Regions from separate parts of the Homo sapiens genome. Here region 2 is linked to region 1. The links are contacts of gene promoters, found by promoter capture Hi-C in blood cells and fetal thymus (Javierre and others, 2016). All regions are on one chromosome and are shown on one strand. The core of a region is centred on a gene start or on the middle of the fragment in contact, and the rest is flanking DNA. Distances in the headings are between cores, read along the strand shown.

What was found. The method cuts DNA at HindIII sites, captures the fragments that hold promoters and counts their contacts. A CHiCAGO score of 5 or more calls a contact.
Region 2: a fragment that was not itself captured here is called in contact with the fragment with the promoter of POU3F1 in region 1 in 1 of 17 cell types (endothelial precursors); the score reaches 5.6 in endothelial precursors.

The regions. Positions count from the first base shown.
Region 1 is chr1:38,042,931-38,049,497 of GRCh38, forward strand. POU3F1 (POU class 3 homeobox 1) reads right to left here and starts at 3,863. Exons shown (of 1, transcript NM_002699.4): 1 at 899-3,863. The coding sequence starts at 3,813. The coding sequence ends at 2,458. It overlaps MIR3659HG (MIR3659 host gene), which reads left to right and starts at 4,204. Exons shown (of 5, transcript NR_168386.1): 1 at 4,204-4,684. RefSeq lists a silencer at 3,924-4,253 and enhancers at 4,166-4,666, 4,667-5,167. The HindIII fragment of the contact is 4,132 bases long and covers 1,749-5,880 here.
Region 2 is chr1:38,729,947-38,735,773 of GRCh38, forward strand. No RefSeq gene overlaps it. Among named protein-coding and RNA genes, the nearest start is that of RRAGC, 130 kb to the right of the region's middle. The HindIII fragment of the contact is 4,123 bases long and covers 1,781-5,827 here.

The DNA of each region.
Region 1 (6,567 bases), core at 2,613-5,112:
GGAGCTCTGCGTCGGGAACCAGATCTGCCCCCAGATACCCTGACTCACTCCAGAAGACAGCATCTGAGGTCTGTGCTCTCCTTCCTATCACTCCCTGCAGTGGTGGCGGTGATGAGGGTCTTGGGTACCCAACCTTGGAAAGAAGATATCAGGTCTTTCTGATGGCACAGTTACCCGTGCCTCCACTTCTCCCCAACAGAAGCTGGGGCAGCGGTTTGTTTGCAGAGACATAAGACCGGCTTTGCCCAAGCAAATTGGCAGGGCTCCCTCCCTAGGCTGACCCAGCTCACGTAGGACCATGAAAGCCACGTCTGTCTAAGCTGTTAGAACTCCCAGTGCATCCAGGGGGGCTTGGGCACCATTTGAGTTTGGGTGGAGAGCCTGCTGGAGTAGGATGGTGGGGCCTCACCAGGCTTCCAGGTGCCCTAGGACTGGGAATGGTAAAGTTGGCTCAGACCTCTCATATAGAGTGCAAGGTGAAATGAAAGTTGGGGGTTGAGGTGTCAGGTGGGGGATTATAGATTCTAGGCTGGTGACCCAGGCCGAGGTGGGCTTCTTTCTTGGTGGAGAAGAGCAGTCGAGTTGTGCATGAACAATGGCTGATCCGAATTCCATGTGGTGTCTTTGGCTCACTGTCCCGGGCCCTGGTTTGGTCTAGGAGAGTCTGTCTACGACAGGGGGACACGAGGCAGCTTCATCTTCCCTAAACTGATGCATCTGAGGCAGGGGCCCAACTGTTGCCCATGTCCTGATATCCACCTGGAAGGTCTGCAGGGTCATCTTCCTCCAAGATCTCTCCTGGTGAGATCAGAACTTCAGGGAGGTGAAGCAGGGGATCCCATCGCTTCACCCCAAAAACCCACCCAGCCCTAGCAGTAAAAAGGACAGGACACAGCCCTGGGGTACATGTTTATGTGAGTAATAAAATATTTACTATAACATAAATATAAAGGGAACTTCCCAGTCTACATTATTTTTTTTTCAATAAAGATACAAAGAGAATGCACCGAAACATTGTTTCAAAAAATAATAAAAATAAAATAACAAAATTTAAATTCAAACCTTAACAAACAGAAGAAGAAACGGAGAAGGGGGAAGCTCCAAACACATCCAGAAAATAAATAGAGATGGGTCAGAAATTCGGAAATCATATTAAAATATCTTTTTCGGATTAGTCAGTGTACAAAATCCTTTAGGGTAGGAAGGAAGGGTAACCCGGAAAACCAAAAATAAAAACCAAGCACAAAATGTTTCTTCTCCCCGCCAGTGTGTACATATCTCACATATTTACATGGTTCCCACCTCACCCCAAACTTGGGGAATTTCTCTCCCGGCCTCCCCTGGCATCCCGCATCCCGGCGGGCTGGAAAGGGAGCAGAGGGAAGCTGCAGGGAATCAGGCGGAGGGTTCTCAGGGAACGGCTTATTTCTACAGCTGGTTAAAAAACAATCTCTCTAACTTTTCCAAGTTTCGTTTGGTGTGGCCAGGAGGGCAGGGCCCCGCGGGGAGCAGGGGCCGCGCTATGCGGCGGTCGGTCTGCAGCAGGGCAGAAGCCCCTTCCCGTCTGGGTGTGTGGGAGCGCAGACCCCTCCGGCGTGGCCGGGAACCAAGCCGGGGCTCGGATGAAACGAAACGAAAAATGAACACTCGAATTTTTTTTGTTAGTTTTTTTTTTTTTTTTTTGCTTTTTTTTGGGGGGAGGGTAGGGTAGGGAAATATAAGGGGAAAAATAAATTAGGCTAGATTAAAGCTTTGGCTATTTCCTGCTTTTATACACAGACGCGGCTCTCGCGACCTCCCCTCCGGGGCCCCGATAAATACAGTATACTGCGATTTAAATTAAGGGCGCGGGCGGAGTTAGAAGGACCCCAGGAGCCGAGAGGCTCCACGAATAAATAAAAACCGTAAAAAACCAAGCCCGGAGAAAGGGGAAAGCGGGGTGGGGCGCATCCTTATAGGAGAGAAGAGGCGTGTAGCGAATAAAGTGACAGCCCCCCACCCTGGACCCGCAGGCTCAGGAGTCCACGCGGGGAGAGGGGATGGAGAACTCTCCTCGCTTCGTCCTCTCTCCCGGGGAATCCCTAACCCCGCACTGCGTTACCTGTCGCTTTGGGGAGGCCGCTGCCGGGATCCGGCCCCGAACAGCCCGGGGGGGCAGGGGCGGGGGTCGTCGAGGGGATGGGGGCAGAGAGCAGGCGGCGGGCAGGATGCCCGGGGTGAGTTGGCGAGTTCCGGATCTTCGCTCCTCTCTCCCGGGGCTCGGGCGACGCAGCCTACCGGGCTGTCTTCGCCGCTCACCGGAGAGGGTCGTCCGGGTGTTTGGTTTTGTTCGAAAGTTTCTGGGCTTTTTTTTTTTTTTGTAAAATCCAAAGCAACCGAACAAAAAGAGTCCAGGCCGCGCGGGCGGGCTGCGCGCCCGCGCCCTGCAGCGCGCCGGCGGGGGCCCGGCCCGCGGGGTCACTGCACTGAGCCGGGCAGTGTGTGGTGGTGGTGGTGGTGCAGCGCCGCCGGCGGGGGCGGTGGGGGCGCGGAGGGTGGCGATGCGCCGCCCCCGCCAGGCCCTAGCTCCCCAGGCGCGTATACATCGTCCATGGGCGGGTGGCCCGCGCCGGCCGCAGGGGTCATGCGCTTCTCCTTCTGCCGCCGGTTGCAGAACCAGACGCGCACCACCTCCTTCTCCAGCTGCAGGCTGTCTGCCAAGCCGGTGATCTCGTGCGCCGAGGGCTTGGGGCACTTGAGAAAGTGGCTCTCGAGCGCGCCTTTGACCCCCACCTCGATGGACGTGCGCTTCTTGCGCTTGCGGCCCTGCGCCGCGATCTTGTCCAGGTTGGTGGGGCTGCCGCTGGACGAGTCGGTCTCCTCCAGCCACTTGTTGAGCAGCGGCTTGAGCTTGCACATGTTCTTGAAGCTCAGCTGCAGGGCCTCGAAGCGGCAGATGGTGGTCTGCGAGAACACGTTACCGTAGAGCGTGCCCAGCGCCAGCCCCACGTCGGCCTGCGTAAAGCCCAGCTTGATGCGCCGCTGCTTGAACTGCTTGGCGAACTGCTCCAGGTCGTCCGAGCTGGGCGCATCCTCGTCCGAGTGCTCGCCCACCGATGAGCCGCCGCCGCCCGCGCCCGGGTGCAGGTGCGCCGCCGCCGCGTGCAGGCCGCCCGCGTGTGCATGTCCGTGTGCGTGTCCGTGGGCGCCCAGATGCGGCGGCGGCGACGGCTCCAGCTGCGCCTCGTGGCCATCCTCGTGCAGCGCGTGGTGCAGGCCCGGCCCCGCGCCGCCACCGCCCGCCGCCAGCATCCCGGCCAGGCCGCCGCCGCCGCCCCCCGGGTAGGCCGCCTGCGCGTACAGCCCGAGCGGCTGGGGCTGGTGGCCCCCGCTGGCCCCGGGCGAGGGCGACATGGCCGGGCCCAAGTGGTGCGCTGTGCTGCCCTGCGCCCATGCCGCGCCCGCGTGGGCCGCCCCCTGGTGCACCAGGCGCGCGTGGAAACCTCCGCCGCCGCCGCCGTCGTCGGCTCGGCCGGTGCCGCCGCCGCCTGCCTTGCCGTGTTCTAGGTGCGGGCCGCCGGCCCAATCGCCGCCGCCGCCTCCTCCCGTGGGTAGCCACTGGGGGTGCGCTAGGCCCACGGGGTGGCCCGCGCCCGCGCCCAGCCACTCGTGGTGCATCAGCTTCTGCACTTCGCGGTACGCGGCCCCTGCATGCAATCGCTCCGCGGCCGCCGCCGCCGCCGCCGCCGCCGCGGCGTCCGGGTGCATAAGCGGCCCGGTGCCCCCGGCTCCGCCACCGGGGCCCCGCGGCAGGTACTGCGCGGTGGTGGCCATGCCGCCCCGCGCCCTGCGCCGCGCCGCCGCCGCCGCTCCGCTCCGTCTGCGGGCCCCGCCGCCTCGCTCCGCCGGCTTAAAGCCCCGACCCGCTCGGCGCTCCGGAGCCCCACCCCGCCCGCCGCCCATTGGCTGCCCGCGGAGCTGCCTCCCGCCTCCCCTGCCCGGCCCCCGCCCCGCGCGCCCGCCCGCCACCCTGCCCGGCCGCCCAGAGCTCTCCATTGGGCGTCGCTCCCGGGGTCCCGCGCGCCGGCCGTGCTGATTGGCCGCTGGGGCTTCATTCACGGCCCCCCTACCGTCCGCGTACACACTCACGCCCCGGGGGCGCGGCCGCCACGTGGGGAGTGGCGCGGGGGTGGCCCTGGGACCGCACCCCCTCTCGTCCTGGCTGTGTGGGCCCCGCTTTCCCCCAGCGCTGGAGACTCCGAGCCCGGCCGGTCCCACATTCCACGCGAGCTGAATTCCCGCCCGCATCCCGCCCGGGCAGCAGGGATTGCCGGCTCCGGGAGGCGCTCGGGCTCCGAGAAGCGGCTCAGCCCCGCGCCCCTCCCTCCTCAGTACCGCTGCCGGCGGACCAGGATTCCCGCGGGTCCTGGCGGCTGCGAGCGCGAGGCGGCGCGGATTCGCGGCTCGGTTCCGGCGCGACTGCTCACCGCGCCCGCCTCGCCTCCCGCGGCTGCCAGCGTGCACTGGGCGCTCCTCGGCGCGTCTGCCCGGCCCGTCTCGGCTTTCCTTCTCCTTCCTCTAGTCCCAGCGTCACAACTCCGCCGACCTCCTCTGCCCTGAGAGCGCGTCCGGTGCGGGCGGAGTCGGACGGACTCTGGCTTCACGCCTCGCGCGGGCACACCTTCTCCCGGGCACTGAGGCCCAGGTGAGTACCGCGCGGGCAGCTGGGGCTGGGACGGCGGGCGGCAGCGGTTCTACAGTCCTACGCGAGCCCCTGGTACCCGGCCGCGCTCCGGGGTTCCAGAAGGAGAAGATCTCGAGGTGGAGACTGTGGCTCCGGGGAAAACGCTGCTGGCAAGGGCGCTAGTTGGGGGTGGACGTTGGGCCCAGGGGTATCTGACCTGCGCCGCTGCAGCCTTCTCGCTCCTTCTCCCAGCTTGAACGGCTCATCGGCTGTGGTCGTGGTGGGATCACGCCCCGGGAGAGGAGAAGGATGGGCTCAGGGAAGGGGCTCGGGCTCTCCAGAAATCCGGCGTGCAGGCCGGGAGCTGTCCAGCCTCGCTAAGAGCCCTGGGCTAGAGTTTGCCCGGACTTGCCTGGAGCTGCTGAAAAGGGAATTGAGATTGAGGAGGCCTTGTTGGAAAGGTGGGCAGTGGAATTTAGCTACCTCCTCACGCCCCAGCCCTTGAGGACTCCCTGAAGGATCTTGAGTGGAGTCGGACCTCACTGCAGTTCCTTTGTGCCTTCTTACCCGACCTTGGGCCCCAGGCTGAGGGTACTGAGCTGTGTTTTCTCCTCTTCCCCACACCGAGGCTTGGGTCCCAGGGAGTCTTCAGCTGCCAGTCCTCCCTCTTTTCTCTCCTGGATCTAGCCTCAAGTGGATTTATAGCTTACAGGGCCCTGGGGTCCCAGATCACAGAACTGAGCTGGGGGCCCACCTAGGGCCCCACTGGGCAAATCAGGTCTGTGGAATAAATCCTTAGATTGAAAAAAGTTGCTGGGGGCTCAGGTGGCAGCTGCCATTGGAACGATCCAGGGCGGCTGGGACAGAGTTGACAGTGACAGGGGTCACCCTGGGCACAGACTTTGATCATGTGGGCCCTGAATGCCCTAGGACCAGCCAGGGAAGGAGTGGGACAGAGCAGGGCCCTTATCCTGCCATTGGCCACTGTCCTGAGCAGGCTCCGTGGTCCCACCCTAGCTGTAAGAGCTGCGATGGAGCTCTGTGTCTGAACCGAGCTAGAGATACTGGGCTTTCCTGGACTCTGGCCCAGGGAATGGTCACCTTGAGGCAGCCCAGGTCTTTCACCTTTCCCAGGCCTGGGAGGTAGGAGGAAGACTGGGAATTCCGCAGTGAAGTCCATGCTCGTGCCAGCCCTAACCAGGCCTGTGTGATATTGAAGCTTGGGCTTTCAACCTGGAGCTGCCATCATCTCCCTGGGCAAGAGTAACTCTGGTCTAGCCTTCCTAGCTCTTGGTTTTCCTTCCTGTATGTTGGGAATAACAGTACTATAGGCAGCCCACCTGTCTCACTAAGGTAGGTCAGATAGTTATGTGAGACAACGGGGGTGTAAAGCTCTCAGATAGGTGTTTACTTTGGTCGTTTCCATTGTTGCTGTTCAGTGACAGGCAAGGCATTCCCCCTCTCTAACTAAATCTCAGTTTCTCCACCTGTAGCGTGGGATTGCAGAGGTTTGGACCAGTCGACCTCTCTGGCACTTCTCACTCTCATGGTCTGTGATTCTGTGAATCTGTCTCAGTTCCTGTTGAAGGAAGTCTGGACAGCGGGCAGGTGTTTTGATTTCCAGCCTTTGGAATTGCCACTGAGGCTGGAAGAACAATGACCAACAGGCACGGATTTTTTTTTTTTTTTTAAATTATACTTTAAGTTCTGGGATACATGAACAGAATGTGCAGGTTTGTTACATAGGTATACATACAGGCACAGTGTTTTAGCAAGTACTTTTACCTGTACCTCTCAGCCCTGTGAGAGAGCACTGAGATTATTATCTTCATTGCCTAGATGAGGGACCCAAAATTTGTCCAAGGGCACAGGACCTGTGAGTTTTCACTCATCATTCCCCTCAT
Region 2 (5,827 bases), core at 2,592-5,091, 690 kb after region 1:
TGCACCACATCCTGCAGATGCCACAGGCACTGTCTCTGTAGGAGGGTCACCACCGCTTCCACAGAAGCCCTGGTAATCCCAAGGATTCTAACCAGGCTGTGATGGGGATGCCGTGCCTGGCTCCTCCAGGGGAAAGGTGCTGATGCACAAAACCTTTGCTCCTTTTCCTGCTATGTCCCACAGCTTCAAACACAGTGCTGACAGAAGAACCACGTGAATTCTGGACTTCATGCATGAAGATTGTTTTCATCCCAAAAAGCTGTGTTTGGAACAAAGGTAGCTCCTTACAGGAAACCTGAGGGGGTTCTTTGGGTGACTTGGTGAGGCTCTGGCAAGGTGGATTGGAGGGCAGTGGGCTCAGACCAGGGTTCTGGGTCCTGGTCTGCTCTCTGCTGCTTGGGTGAATTGGTCCTTGGTCTTGGGTGAATTCTTCCCACTGTGCAGTGAAGTTAATCTATAATTAAGGGTTCTGCATCAGTCTCCAGGGATCATTCCTGCTCAAACTTCTGTTCTTCATATATTACTATTCTCCTGGGTTTCTTCTGGCCTGAGTACTTTTCACTCTAGCCAAGATGCTCAATATCATCTGTTTTGCTAATCCAGGCAACTATAGTAACAGTGTCCATGTACAGGGTCTTTTATTATGCCCATTTTATACAGTAGAAAATCAAGGCTCAGAGAAGTTGACTGACCCCAAATGGAGAGCCAAGACTCAACCTCAGGTTTTGACTCAGCTTCAGATCCCAAGCTTTTACTCATCACACACTGGCACTTTCCCAGGTGGCTGCCTTAGTCGAATACTGGCCCATTTACAATCAACATAGTTGTAGGACAATCTGTGTCTCTCGTGCTAAATTGTTTTCAAATTCTGATACACAGAAAACTAATTCCACTGAACATTAATAGGTTTTCCTTGGGAACAACAACAAAAATGTTTCATCATCAAATGAATTTGACCCTAAGTAAAACAAGTAAACAGTTTCTTTGTACCTGCAGGACTTCTCAGGGCCTTTAAGATGCCAGTAAGGTATGCCATTTACTCCTGACCTTTATCCATGGACCCTTTCCTCCTTCTTTTTTCTTGAGCAACCTGTGTTCTACTAACAGATTAGGCTTCTGCAACTTCACTACTAAAAGTGTGATTCCCAGACAAGCAGGATGCAGCATTGCCTGGCAGTTAGTCAGAAATGCAGACTCTCAGGCCCCACCCAGACCTGCTGAATCAGAGCCTGCACTTTAAGAAGATGTGCAGGTGGTTCACATTGAAATTTGAGAAGCACTGGCCTGTAGTAAACATATTGGGAAACATGGCTGATTCATCATGGACTGTGTCCGTGTACTAGCCATCAACCCGTAAAATCAAGCAGGGACAAAAGTATCAAGCATTATTTGGCATTACGTGGACCAAACAACTAGATTTGGAATTAAGTCGAGATGCTGTAACATCACATAGAAATAATCCAAGCTAGTTCCCACAATGGAAAGTTTCTTCCCATTCCTAGGGAGATGTAAAAATGGATGGAGATGAAGGGATGACCAATACCCTTTCCTACAGCCATTCCTAAAATGTAGACATGGAAAGTATTGCATACCTCTTCCTAAAATGTAGAGGTCTTTAAATTCTTAGAAAGAGTGCACCTCTGTTTCCCTGGATCCCCTCTCAATTACAGAAGTGGTCAAGGTTAGTGAGTGTCCCAGATATTTTCACCTGGGATGCTCTTGGGAAATGGCACATTGGCCCCTAACCTGGGAACTGAAAAGACAGCCTCAAGGGTACAGAAGCTTGTCTTAAGGTTTTAAAAATCACAGCTGAAATGACCCATTCATGCAAGATAAGACCTGTGCCTCAAGAAAAATGCCTTTGCTTTTGGCTGCAATTATTTCAATTCATGTGGTCACACTCTCTCAAGCTGACCTGACATTTCAAGCTGCAGCTTGATATATCTTTGCTCAACAAAAGATGGGAAACAAATTAGTTTTTACTTAATGACTTCAATGTTTTGGGGAGAAAAAATCTTTGAGTTTGTGTGCAGAGGTTCAGTAACTGGCCAGAAGACATACAGCTTGTAAGCGATGGTGTCTGACTTAGAACCCAGATCTGACTGACCCCCAAGTCAGGACTCTCTCTATTATGGAGGCAGTTCAAGGACACACACACATTTTGTCATCCTCTTCATATTACTTGTCCCTAAACCTCTCCTTTTATAATGCAAAGTACTTCTGCTAAACCCCATGTTCCTCCCCACCTTCCCATCCCTATTCTATCTTTGGTTTTAAAAACTTTCATTCATCTTTATTGAATTCCTTTTTTCAGGTGCTGCCAAATTTACCAGCTGGCCAAGATTTTTCCCCATTCTATATTGTCATGCATGCAAATCATTTTGCTAGTGCTCCCCACAAATAGGACGACTCTGCGTCCTTTAGTCAGGTACTGAGCTCCATAGTCCCCTCTGGAAATCAGGTAACTAGCAACCTGTCAATCAATTTGGATGCATCTCACAGACAAGGTACTCAAGATGGAACTCCTAATTCCTCCCCAAGTCTTCCCACCTGCAGCATGGTACCACCATCAATTCAGCTGGGGGAGGGAGGAATCTAATCCTCTGTATTCCTCGTCCCCCACATCTTATCTATCAGTAAGTTCTTTCCACTCAACCTCCAATAGAAGTGCTAAATCCACCACTTCTTGCCTTCACCACTGTCACCAGCAGTTCTAAATCACTATCGTCTCTCACCTGGACCCCTGCAAGTGTCCTAATTAGTCTTCCTGCAACTATTCATGCCCCTTCCAGCACCTGTTCCACAAGGCAGCCAGAGTAATCAGCCATTGGAAACAGCATCAGATCACACCACTCCCCTGCTTAAAACCCTTTTCTATCAGAATGCAAGTTCTGTAAGATTTGGAACCCAACTCTCATCTTCACCTCGTATCCCTAGTACCTACAGTACAACGGTGCCAGCACAAAGTAGGTACTCAGTAAATATTGCTTGCATGAATGAATCAAGTGATAACCTTAATTGCAAACATCCAAAATCTTCTATTATTTATAGAAAAGTGGCTCTATCTCTTTTCATTTTTATTCCAACATTGTAGTGGTTGTTCTCTAATTTCTGTGGAGATGTCAACATATGTAGACTCTAGGCAATTTATTTTTCCCCTTCCCTCCAGAAGTAAAGTAAAAGGAATATGTGACTCACACACACAGATGCATCTCACGCCAGTTGTGTTGCTTGAGAATAGATGGGAGATTATGCTGATTGAACTGGACAGTTTCCATTTTTATTATTTTAATTATAAACACAAACTATTGGGGGTAAAATCTTATGGAAATCTGCCTATCAATTTCACAATTAACATCTCATTTCAAGAGACCAATCAACTCAAATGAGGGCCAGTGACCTTAATCTTTCCCCAAATACAGTGTTTGATTCCTCTTATTAGTTGAAAATCTCCGAACTATGAAACATGTGGGTTAGACCGATGTTTGCTTCAACGATGCTATCAGCCACATTTCAGTAAGTCAAGGAATTTTTGTGACCTTTGCGTTACAGTTTGTATGGACAAAAGAAGGAAGGCTAAAGCTGTGCAAATCAAGTAGGAGAAATAACAAGGCCACTTAAGTAGGGTCTCTTTTTTTCATTTATTTTTCTAAGACTGTGGAAGGAAGTGTGATTTTAAGGCAACTTATTTTGCCACTGATTAGCTAAAATTAACCCAAGAAGAGAGTAAAGCCCAGAAGTGAAAGGCAGCTAATTTTAATCCTAAAGGTCTGTAAAAAATCCTATCAGAAAAATAAAATTCTCTTTGTGATATAGGAGAAAAAAAAACTTGGCTTTTAAAAAGAAATGCAACAGAAAAAGACAAATTTGACCTGGCAAACAATGCGTCTACTTAACATCAATACTCCTGCAAAGATTAGAACAAGACCATACACTCTGCAGGGTTAATCACTACTCCCAAAACACCAGAGGTTCCACCTAAGTAAACGCGGGACATGTACACACAGGTACCAACCAATCATTAGAACTAGACAGACCAATTACTAATAGCCTGTTAACAACCAGTTGGGCAATTTCACTTTGGAGTAGACTTGGGGCACACAAGATGCCAAAACTACCCCTGAAACATTTCAAGGTCAGCCAAGAAGCTGCCAGTCTTGTCTCTCTGACTGCATTGATTGATGTGCCTTGAGCAGCTCCATCCAAGCCTTTGCGGGGGTGAAGGATTTTTCTTCAACCTGCTCACATGGATGATTGGCTGTTTGGGATCTGTATGGCTAGAATTCTTAAGCTGCAAGAAATAGAAACCAACGTAAGCTAAGCTGAGGCAGCAAAGGGGAATTCATTAAAAGGATATAAGACTGTTTCTTGGAACTCAAGGGCACAAATGGCACCAGACCTCAAGAAAGAACTTGCTGCAGGTCTCTTTTCTGTTCCTTTCATCCATTTGCTTCTCAGTTCACAACAGAAAGAAATGGCCACCCCCTACTCCCAAGTCCCCATCTATTCTTTTCTACAGACCATCCCAGCCAGTCCTAGAATTTTTGAGTCTCAAATTTTGAGGAGAAAGAAACTGAATTGTCAAATTTGGATCAGGTATACCATACTATACCTTCAACCATGACCAAGTGGACTGTAACACAATGCAGACATGACTATAAGGGTTGGTGCACAAGGATGAGGAGGGAAATTCAGGAAGATTACCATGAGGTAGGCAGAATCTTCCAGAAAGTATCTAATAAAGGACTACATTATCACAACCAGAGCCAACTGAACTAGCCTAACACACAGAGCCGGGGTCAAGCCAAATGATTCCCATTGTACCTTTGGTCAGACCTTCTCCATAGGGCAAGAGGCCAGTACCCAGTAGAAACGAATAACCTGCAGCTGCTTCACAATGCTCTGGGAGAGGAGCCACAGCTATACTCTCTGAGAGCACCCTGTATTCTTCTTCATCCTGCTTATGACAGTTTGTAATCCTACATTTATTTTAAACTTGTTTAATGAGCATCTCTCTCCATCACTCAGTTTGAAGCTCTACAAACAAGGTCAGGTACCATATTGGTTTTACTTCCTGTCCTAGTCCATTTTTGCATTGCTATAAAGAAATATCTGGGACTGGGTAATTTATAAAGAAAAGAGGTTTAATTGGCTCATAGTTCTGCAGGCTGTACAGGAAGCATGATGCTGGCATCTTCTCGGCTTCTGGGGAGGCCTCAGGAAACTTATGATCATTGCATAAGGTGAAGGGAGAGGAGGCACGTAGGCACATTACATGGTGAAAGAAGGAATAAGAAAGAGAGCAGGGAGGTGCTACACATTTTTAAATGACCAGATCTCACAAGAACTTACTATCACAAGGACAGTACCAAGGGGAATGGTGCCAAACCATTCATGAAAAACTACCCCCATGATCCAATCACCTCCCACCAGGCCCCAACTCCAATACTGGGGATTACAGTTCAATATGAGTTTTGGGCAGGGACATAGATTCAAACCATATCACTTCCCTTCATCTTCCTGGCACCATGCCTGACACATACTGAATACTCATCAAAGAGTGAATAAAATGAATGGAGTGGAGGAGTCCAAGGAAGTTTTGCCAGATGATTTGGTACATGAGTTGAGTCTCAAAGGACAAACAGAGTCTTTTAGGAGAACAAGCTGGGAGAGCATCCCTGGCAGAGGGAATGACAGAGGGCCCAAAGGCACATAGTGCAAATACCACAGAAATGGTGAGGCAGCTTGCGGCAAGAGAGCTGGCCAGGAAGTAGAGGTGGAGGTCACCTCATCTTGCATAGAGACTGGAGGGCTCAGAGCTAGGAAT